2 separate regions of the Homo sapiens genome follow, and region 1 is linked to region 2. Evidence: promoter capture Hi-C in human tissues and cell types (Jung and others, 2019). All regions are on one chromosome and are shown on one strand. The core of a region is centred on a gene start or on the middle of the fragment in contact, and the rest is flanking DNA. Distances in the headings are between cores, read along the strand shown. Region 1 has its middle 5.2 kb from the start of SLC7A5. Region 2 holds the start of ZCCHC14 (zinc finger CCHC-type containing 14).

Region 1 (3,710 bases), core at 1,087-3,586, 380 kb after region 2:
TCCTTTCTTTCTTTCTTTCTTTCTTTCTTTCTTTCTTTCTTTCTTTCTTTCTTTCTTCCTTCCTTCCTTCCTTCCTTCCTTCCTTCCTTCCTTCCTTCCTTCCTTTCTTTCTCTCTCTCTCTCTCTCTCTCTCTCTTTCTCTCTTTCTCTCTTTCTTTCTTTCTTGTCTCACTTATCGCCCAGGCTAGAGTGTGGTGGCGCGATCTCGGCTCACTGCAAGCTCCGCCTCCTGGGTTCAAGTGATTCTCCTGCCTCAGCCTCCAGAGTAGCTGGGACTACAGGCGCCTGCCACCACGCCCGGCTAATTTTTTTGTATTTTTAGTACAAACGGGGTTTCACCGTGTTAGTCAGGATGGTCTCCATCTCCTGACCTCGTGATCCGCCCGCCTTGGCCTCCCAGAGTGCTGGGATTACAGGTGTGAGCCACTGTGCCCGGCCTCCAAACATTGCTTTCTACTGATCCCAGGTCTTTTGTGTTTTTCTTTTTTTTTTTGAGACAGAGTCTCACTGTCGCCCTGGCTGGAGTGCAATGGCACGATCTTGGCTCACTGCAACCTCTGCCTCCCGGGATCAAGTGATTCTCCTGCCTCAGCCTCCCGAGTAGCTGGGATTACAGGCACCTGCCACCACACCTGGCTAATTTTTGTATTTTTAGTAGAGGCTGGGTTCCACCAGGTTGACCACGCTGGTCTCGAACTCCTGGTGATCTGCCCACCTCGGCCTCCCAAAGTGCTGGGATTACAGGCGTGAGCCACCATGCTCGGCAACAATCCCAGGTCTTTAGACAACAAACTCAAACAATTGTCAACCAGAAAATGTTTAAATTGGTTGGGCGCGGTGGCTCACACTTGTAATCCCAGCGATTTGGGAACTTTGGGAGGCCGAGGCGGGGGGATCTCGAGGTCATGAGTTAAAGACCAGCCTGGCCAACATGGTGAAACCCCATCTCTACTAAAAATATAAACATTGGCCGAGTGCGGTGGCTCATGCCTGTAATCCCAGCACTTTGGGAGGCCGAAGCAGGCAGATCACTTGAGGTCAGGAGTTTAAGACCAGCCTGGCCAACATGGTGAAACCCCGTCTCTACCAAAAATACAAAAAAATTAGCTGGGCGTGGTGGTGGGCGCCTGTAGTCCCAGCTACTCGGGAGGCTGAGGCAGGAGAATGGCATGAACGTGGGAGGCGGAGGTTGCAGTGACGGGAGATCGCACCACTGCACTCCAGCCTGGGTGACAAAGCGAGACTCCGTCTCAAAAAAAAAATATATATATATATATATATATATATACACACATATATATACACACATATATACACATATATACACACATATATATACACATATATACACACATATATATACATATATGTATATACACATATATACATATATACGTATATATACACATATATACACATATATATACACACACACACATATATATACACACACATATATATATATAAACATCAGCTGGGCGTGTTGGTGCACCGCCTGTAATGGGAGGCTGAGGCAAGAGAATCGCTTGAAACCAGAAGGCAGAGGTTGCAGTGAACCAAGATTGTGCCACTGCACTCCAGCCTGGGTGGAAGAGCGAAACTCTTGTCTCAAAAAAAAAAAAAAAGAAAATGTTTACATTTACCTCTAGCCTGGAAGCCCCCCTCCTGCTTTGAGTTGTCCCGCCTTTCTGAACCAAACCAATGTATTTTTTAAATGTACTTGATTGATGTCTCATGTCTCCTTAAAATGTATAAGACCAAGCTGCACCCCAACCACCTTGGGCACATGCGGTCCGGACCTCCCGAGGCTGTGTCACGGGTGCGCCCTCAACCTTAGCAAAATACGCTTTCTAAATTAAAGGAGGCCTGTCTCAGATTTGCTGGCTTCACAACCCTTAATTGAAGTGGGGCTTCCTGGGGCCGCCTCTCTCCTGTGAGTCCCCTGCCGGGCTGGTTCTCAGTCACAGGGGAGAAATGCCTGCATCTTTTAACATAGCAAGGGTCCTTGCTTCTTCTGGAGGTTGTTTTTGAAAGCCATGCTTTTATTATGCTCAGAGGTGAGCTTTTCCTATCTGCATGCTTGACAAGGTGGGGCTGCCCTGAGTACGATCAGAAATTCCGTTCTGTTTCCAGGCAGATAGGTGTGTAGGGCAGCCACTCAGTCAGTGTTCGGCCTTAAAGACTCTTGCCAGTCAAGGAAGACGACCGAGGCAAGTCTCCGTCATTTTAGCTTTAAATGCCAACATTAGGGACGCGCACCTGAGAGACTGGTCTATGCCTTTCTCCGAAGATGATTTTGAGGGCTTCAATATTGAAAGGGGGAAGGGCAGGATATTGGGCAGTACACAATTTTCATGTGAAGGGGGTAGGGGAAAATTCAAGTTTTTGTCTGGTTTAGTGACTCTGCCGTTTCACGTAAGATACCCTAGACGATAGGGCAGCGGAAACAATGAGATATGCATTTGCTTCAGGTGGGCGGAGGGATGACTCAGTTCTGCCCCTCGTCCCAGCACCTGTGAAGATAAGCTAACGGTTCACATTGCCAGGGTGAACTTTAACAGAAGCGCTTAGGGTAAAGATCTTGGAGCCCACAAGGAATTTCCTTATGGGCAAAATGTGAGGGAGGTGTGTCGCTTTTCATCTTTTTTTTTTTTTTTTTTTGAGACGGAGTCTCACTCTGTCACCAGGCTGGAGTGTAGTGGGTCGATCTCAGCTCACTGCAACCTCTGCCTCCCGGGTTCAACTGATTCTTCTGCCTCAGTCTCCCAAGTAGCTGGGATTACAGGCGCCTGCCACCATGCCCGGCTAAGTTTTGCAGTTTTAGTAGGGACGGGGTTTCATCATGTTGGCCAGGCGGGTCTGGAATTCCTAACCTCAAGTGATCCACCCGCCTTGGCCTCCCAAAGTGCTGGGATTACAGGGGTGAGCCACCAAGCCCAGCCAAACTTTTCATCTCTGTAGCTGTTTGTTAAATAATTAGGAGCCGAAACAGGAGGCTGGTTCCCATGACACGGTCACCAGCTTCACTTTTCCCTTTCGTTAGCAAGTGTGGGGTCCCAGGATTTATGTTCCTTTCACACTCTCTATGCCATTTAATTTTTGCAGCAACTATAGTTAGTTGTCATTTATGGTTGGAGAAAAAGGGCAGTTCAGTAAGTGGCCAAGCCCAGCTTCAGACCCAGGGCAGGCCTTTAATCCTCGTGGCAATGCTGACTGCCACGCTGATGGCGCCACTTACATAGGCAGCCAGATTCATAAGCATGCGGATTCTCCCAGTTAAAAGAGAATTTTGGCCGGGGGCGGTGGCTCACGCCTGTAATCCCAGCACTTTGGGAGGCTGAGGTGGGCAGATCACAAGGTCAAGAGTTCAAGACCAGCCTGGCCAACATGGTGAAACTCCGTCTCTACCAAAAATACAAAAATTAGCCTGGCGCAGTGGCAGGCACCTGTAATCCCAGCTACTCGGGAGGCTGAGGCAGGAGAATTGCTTGAACCCAGCAGGCAGAGGTTGCAGTGAGCCAAGATTGTGCCACTGCACTCCAGCCTGGGCAACACACTGAGAATCCATCTAACAACAAAAAAAAGAGAACTTCATTTCAGCTGCCCCTGGTGGCACCTTGAAAGCCTCATTGCCTCTTCACTGGAAACATCCACCATTCTTGTTAAAGAAAAGACACTCATGACTTTCCTTCACCGAATCCTTCTAGCTT
Region 2 (3,842 bases), core at 114-2,613:
GCACGCACCTTGTGGCAGGCTGGGCAAGTGGGCAGCGCGCCGCCCGGCCCGGGCGCGCCCTTGCCGCCGTGGCCCCCGCCGCCGTTCAGGCTGCTCTGGATCTGCGTGAGCTCCTGGCGCAGCACCTGCTTCTGGTGGAAGCTGAAGGCCGGGTGGTTGGAGGCCATGGTGAACAGCAGCAGGAACTCATCGCCCGTGCGGCCCTCGTTAAGCTGCAGCCCGTAGTTGTGGATGATGGAGTCGATGTGCGTGAGCGTGCGGTAGAGCACGCCCGCCGCCTCGCGCTGCTCCGAGCCCAGCAGCGCCAGCGACACCAGCAGCTTGCTGCGCACCACCTCGTCCGTCAGGTTGGTGAGGCTGCCCAGGTCGGCCGGGTTGTTGGCCTTGATCTCCGAGTCGCGCAGCGAGTGGTAGTCCTTGCGGGCCAGGTCCTCCAGGCACGAGCCGAGGAAGCGAAGCTCGAGCGGGATGCACAGGTCCAGCAGGCCGCACAGGAACTCCACGCGCTGCGGCGACGGCAGCTCCGAGAACCAGCGGTACACGCCGTCCCTCTGCAGCGGGCAGCGCTTCTCCACCATGCTGCCGCCCGCGCCGCGCCGCGACCCGGGGCCGGGGACCGCGCGGGGGCGGCCGGGGGGCGCCGGGGGCCGCGGCCGGGGCGCGCCGGGACCGGGGACGCGCGGGCCGGGGCCGGGTCCGGGCGAGGGCGCGCGGGCGCCGCGGGCCGGGCGGGCGCCGGGGCGGGGGCGGGGACCGGGGCCGGGCAAGGCTCCCGTCAGGGGCCGGCGGGCGGGCGCGCGCGGGGCGCCGGGGGGGCCCGGGGCGGCCGGGGCGGCCGGGGGCGGCGAGCGGCCTCGGGCCCCCCGCTCACGGGGAGGCGCCTTCCCCGCGCCCGTGCCCAGCGGCGGCCGGTGCGCGGCGGCGGCGGCGGCTGCTCCTCGTCGTCGTCGTCGTCGTCGCCCGGGAGGCGGCCGCCCCCATCTCCCCCCGCGCCGCAGGGTCTGTCACTGCGGGCCGCCCCCCGACGGAGCCGCCCCGGCCATGCCGTCGCCGCCGCCCGCGCCTCCGCCCAGGCCGGCCGTTACCCCGGGCCGCGGGCGCGGCGTCGCCGCCTGGGGAGCGCTGGGGGCCGCGGCCGCGAAACGGACGCTGGAGGGGGAGGGACGCGCGGCGGGAGGCGCGGAGGGATCCGGCCGGGACTTGCCGGCCTTGCTGCTCCCGCGCGGCGGACGGATCCGGGCCCGAGCGCGGCGGCGGCGGCGACGGCGACGGCGACGGCGACGGCGACGGCGGAGGAGGCGCCGGCCGAGGAGCGGAGGGATCGTCGCGCTCGCGGCTGACGGGCGGCCGGGATCAGCAGAAGTGGGCGGGGTGGCCGCCTCTCGCGACAGCCCGGGCCTGCCGGGCCCGTCCCCCCCCCACTGATTGGCTCAGGCGGCCCGTTCTCGGCCCGTGATTGTGCCGGGTCCCCAATCCCATTCGCCCGTTCCGCGGCCACGCCTCCCTGGGGGCTGTCGATCATGTTGGGGCCACCGCCTCCCGTCCCTCGGCGGCCGTCAAGACGCGATTGGTCCGCGGAATCGGAGAGGCGGAAAACCCGGGCTGGATTTCTGGTTGCTTTTGTTCCCGCAAATTTGCGTGGAGCATTGTTTTTCGGCGAAAACGGGGCGTTCGGCCTTCCTGCTTTATTTTTGAGCGGTGTAAGAGGGAGGTAGTGGGTATCTTCGAGAAACGGCCGCCGCGGGGTCCGGAGCCCCGGGTTCCAATCCCGGGTCGGCCACTGCAAAGCTGTGTGACCTTGGGCGAGTCACTTGGCCTCTCTGAGCCCCAGGCGCCTCCCCGGGAAAAAGAGGGTAATAATAACCGCCCCCGAGGTTTGTGCGAAGGTGTTGAGCTCACAGAGGGCCGGCACCGGCACTTTTGAGGCGGCTGACTTGCCCTGGGGGTGTGATGGGAGGTGCAAGCTTTCTCCAAAAGCCTCGTCCAAATGGAGCCTTTAAATCCGCCTTCTTTCCGCGGCTACTTCACCAGCTCGCCAAACGCAGAAAATGCAAACACAGGGGAGGGGGCAAGGGAGCTGACCTGGCTGGAAGTAAACAGAAACGCCACCCTCCCCTGGCACTTGCATTGGCACCGGATTGCAGGTGGGGGAAGGGCCGGTGCACCCAACCACCTTTAAATCCCACCACTTACACACAGGCATAGAAGTAGAGCCGCGGGGGCTGGACGCTCATTCCTCCCCTGCCCTTCCCCTAGAGCGCTGCTTTGAATGTCTGTTGATCTAGAACGGGGTCTGTTCATTCATGGGTTCCAGGTCCCAAGCGCCCGGGGGCAGCTGAGAGCAAAGCTGGCGCCCTCCCTACCCTGTGGAGCTTACACTCTGGTTCTGGGCAGTGCACACTAGAGATTGGTTAAATCAATGAATGAACTTTTTCAGGATATGGTCCAAGGTGCTGAAAACTTCCTAACAAAACTCTTCAGCCGAATCTGGCACGCCTGTGGTTCCAGCTACTGGGTAGACCGAGGCAGGAGGATCGCTTGAGGCCAAGAGTTTAAGACCAACCTGGGCAACATGGTGAGACCCCCCCTCCCCGCCCCAGTCGCTCCAAAACAAACAAACCCCACATTCTCCAGTCTTAGGTCTTCGAGGATGAACAGAGATTGCAGAAAGGCATGGTTGGGAACAAAAAAAATTGCTCTCCACTCCCCCAGCCCCCTCCACACCTTGGGCACATTTCCCTGGAGCTGCCCCAGTGTTCTTTGTCAGTGTAGGAAGAAGCAAAAATCTAAATGGAGTCAGGATGGCCTCCCACATGGGCACAAGGGCAAGGCTGGGGACAGTTGGGTCTCCTCATCTTATTTCCCAGGTCTAGGCTGATTTCTATTAATAATTAAATTAATCGTCGTTGTCCTGGACCTCACTTCTTAATGTGATTCCAGGGAACTGGCCACATTCCAAAATTCATAATCTAAGGTAGTGAAAGAACGTGAACATCAAGACAGTTTGGCTGGGCTCAGAGGCTCACATCTGTAATCCCAGTACTTTGGGAGGCCGAGGGTAGATCCCTTGAGCCCAGGAGTTCGAGACCAGCCTGGGCAACATGGCGAAATCCCATCTCTACAAAAACTACAAAAATTAGCCAGATGTGGTGGCATGTGCCTGTAGTCCCAGGTACTTGGGAGACTGCAGTGGAAGGATTGCCCGAGCCCGGGAAAGGGAGGTTGCGGTGAATGGGGATCCCGCCACTGCACTCCAGCCTGGGTGACAGCGTAAGACTCTGTCTCAAAAACAAAACAAAACAAAAGATTCATTTCTTATTGATAAAGCAAGCTCCTTGGAGAAAGATCTTGGAACCTCATTAGTGCTGGGGGTGGGGGTGGGGCTTCTTCAATCCAGCCGAGCTGGCTGTGAAACCCCCAGGCTTTGGTACCAAGTGAGCTCCAGTCCCAGCTGTGGCTGACTGTGTGAACTTGGCTATGCATTCAGAGGCCTCTGAGCCTCAGTTTCCTCATCTGTAGAAGACAGCCAGGAACCCGTCATCCTGGCTAGCAGTGGAAGTCAAAGGTGCTCATGGAAAGCCCTTGCTGGCTGGAACAAGGGAGGCCTGAGCTGTGGAAGTCCTTGGATCAAGGTCCTCCCCACTTCCCGCTGCCTTTTTGGTCCTTCTTGCGTGCTCTTTGTGATTTAATGGCTTAGTAGGTTGAATCATGTCCCCCCAAAGTTTATCTCTACCCCAAATCTCAGAATGTGACCTTATTTGGGAAAAGAGTCTTTGCAGATATAATTAAGGTAAGAGTCAAGATAAAATCACACTGAATTAAGGTGAGCCCTACATGCAATG

The links. Contacts are between HindIII fragments. The study calls those that stand out against the background at their distance.
Region 1: a fragment that was not itself captured here is called in contact with the fragment with the promoter of ZCCHC14 in region 2 in 1 of the 25 tissues and cell types used here (spleen).

What each region holds. Positions count from the first base shown.
Region 1 is chr16:87,872,864-87,876,573 of GRCh38, forward strand. No RefSeq gene overlaps it. Among named protein-coding and RNA genes, the nearest start is that of SLC7A5, 5.2 kb to the left of the region's middle. RefSeq lists an enhancer at 3,131-3,658. The HindIII fragment of the contact is 7,274 bases long and covers 1-3,710 here.
Region 2 is chr16:87,491,661-87,495,502 of GRCh38, forward strand. It overlaps ZCCHC14 (zinc finger CCHC-type containing 14), which reads right to left and starts at 1,364. Exons shown (of 13, transcript NM_015144.3): 1 at 9-1,364. The coding sequence starts at 578. ZCCHC14-DT (ZCCHC14 divergent transcript) reads left to right here and starts at 2,527. Exons shown (of 4, transcript NR_110943.1): 1 at 2,527-2,575. RefSeq lists a silencer at 1,303-1,482. The HindIII fragment of the contact is 17,996 bases long and covers 1-3,842 here.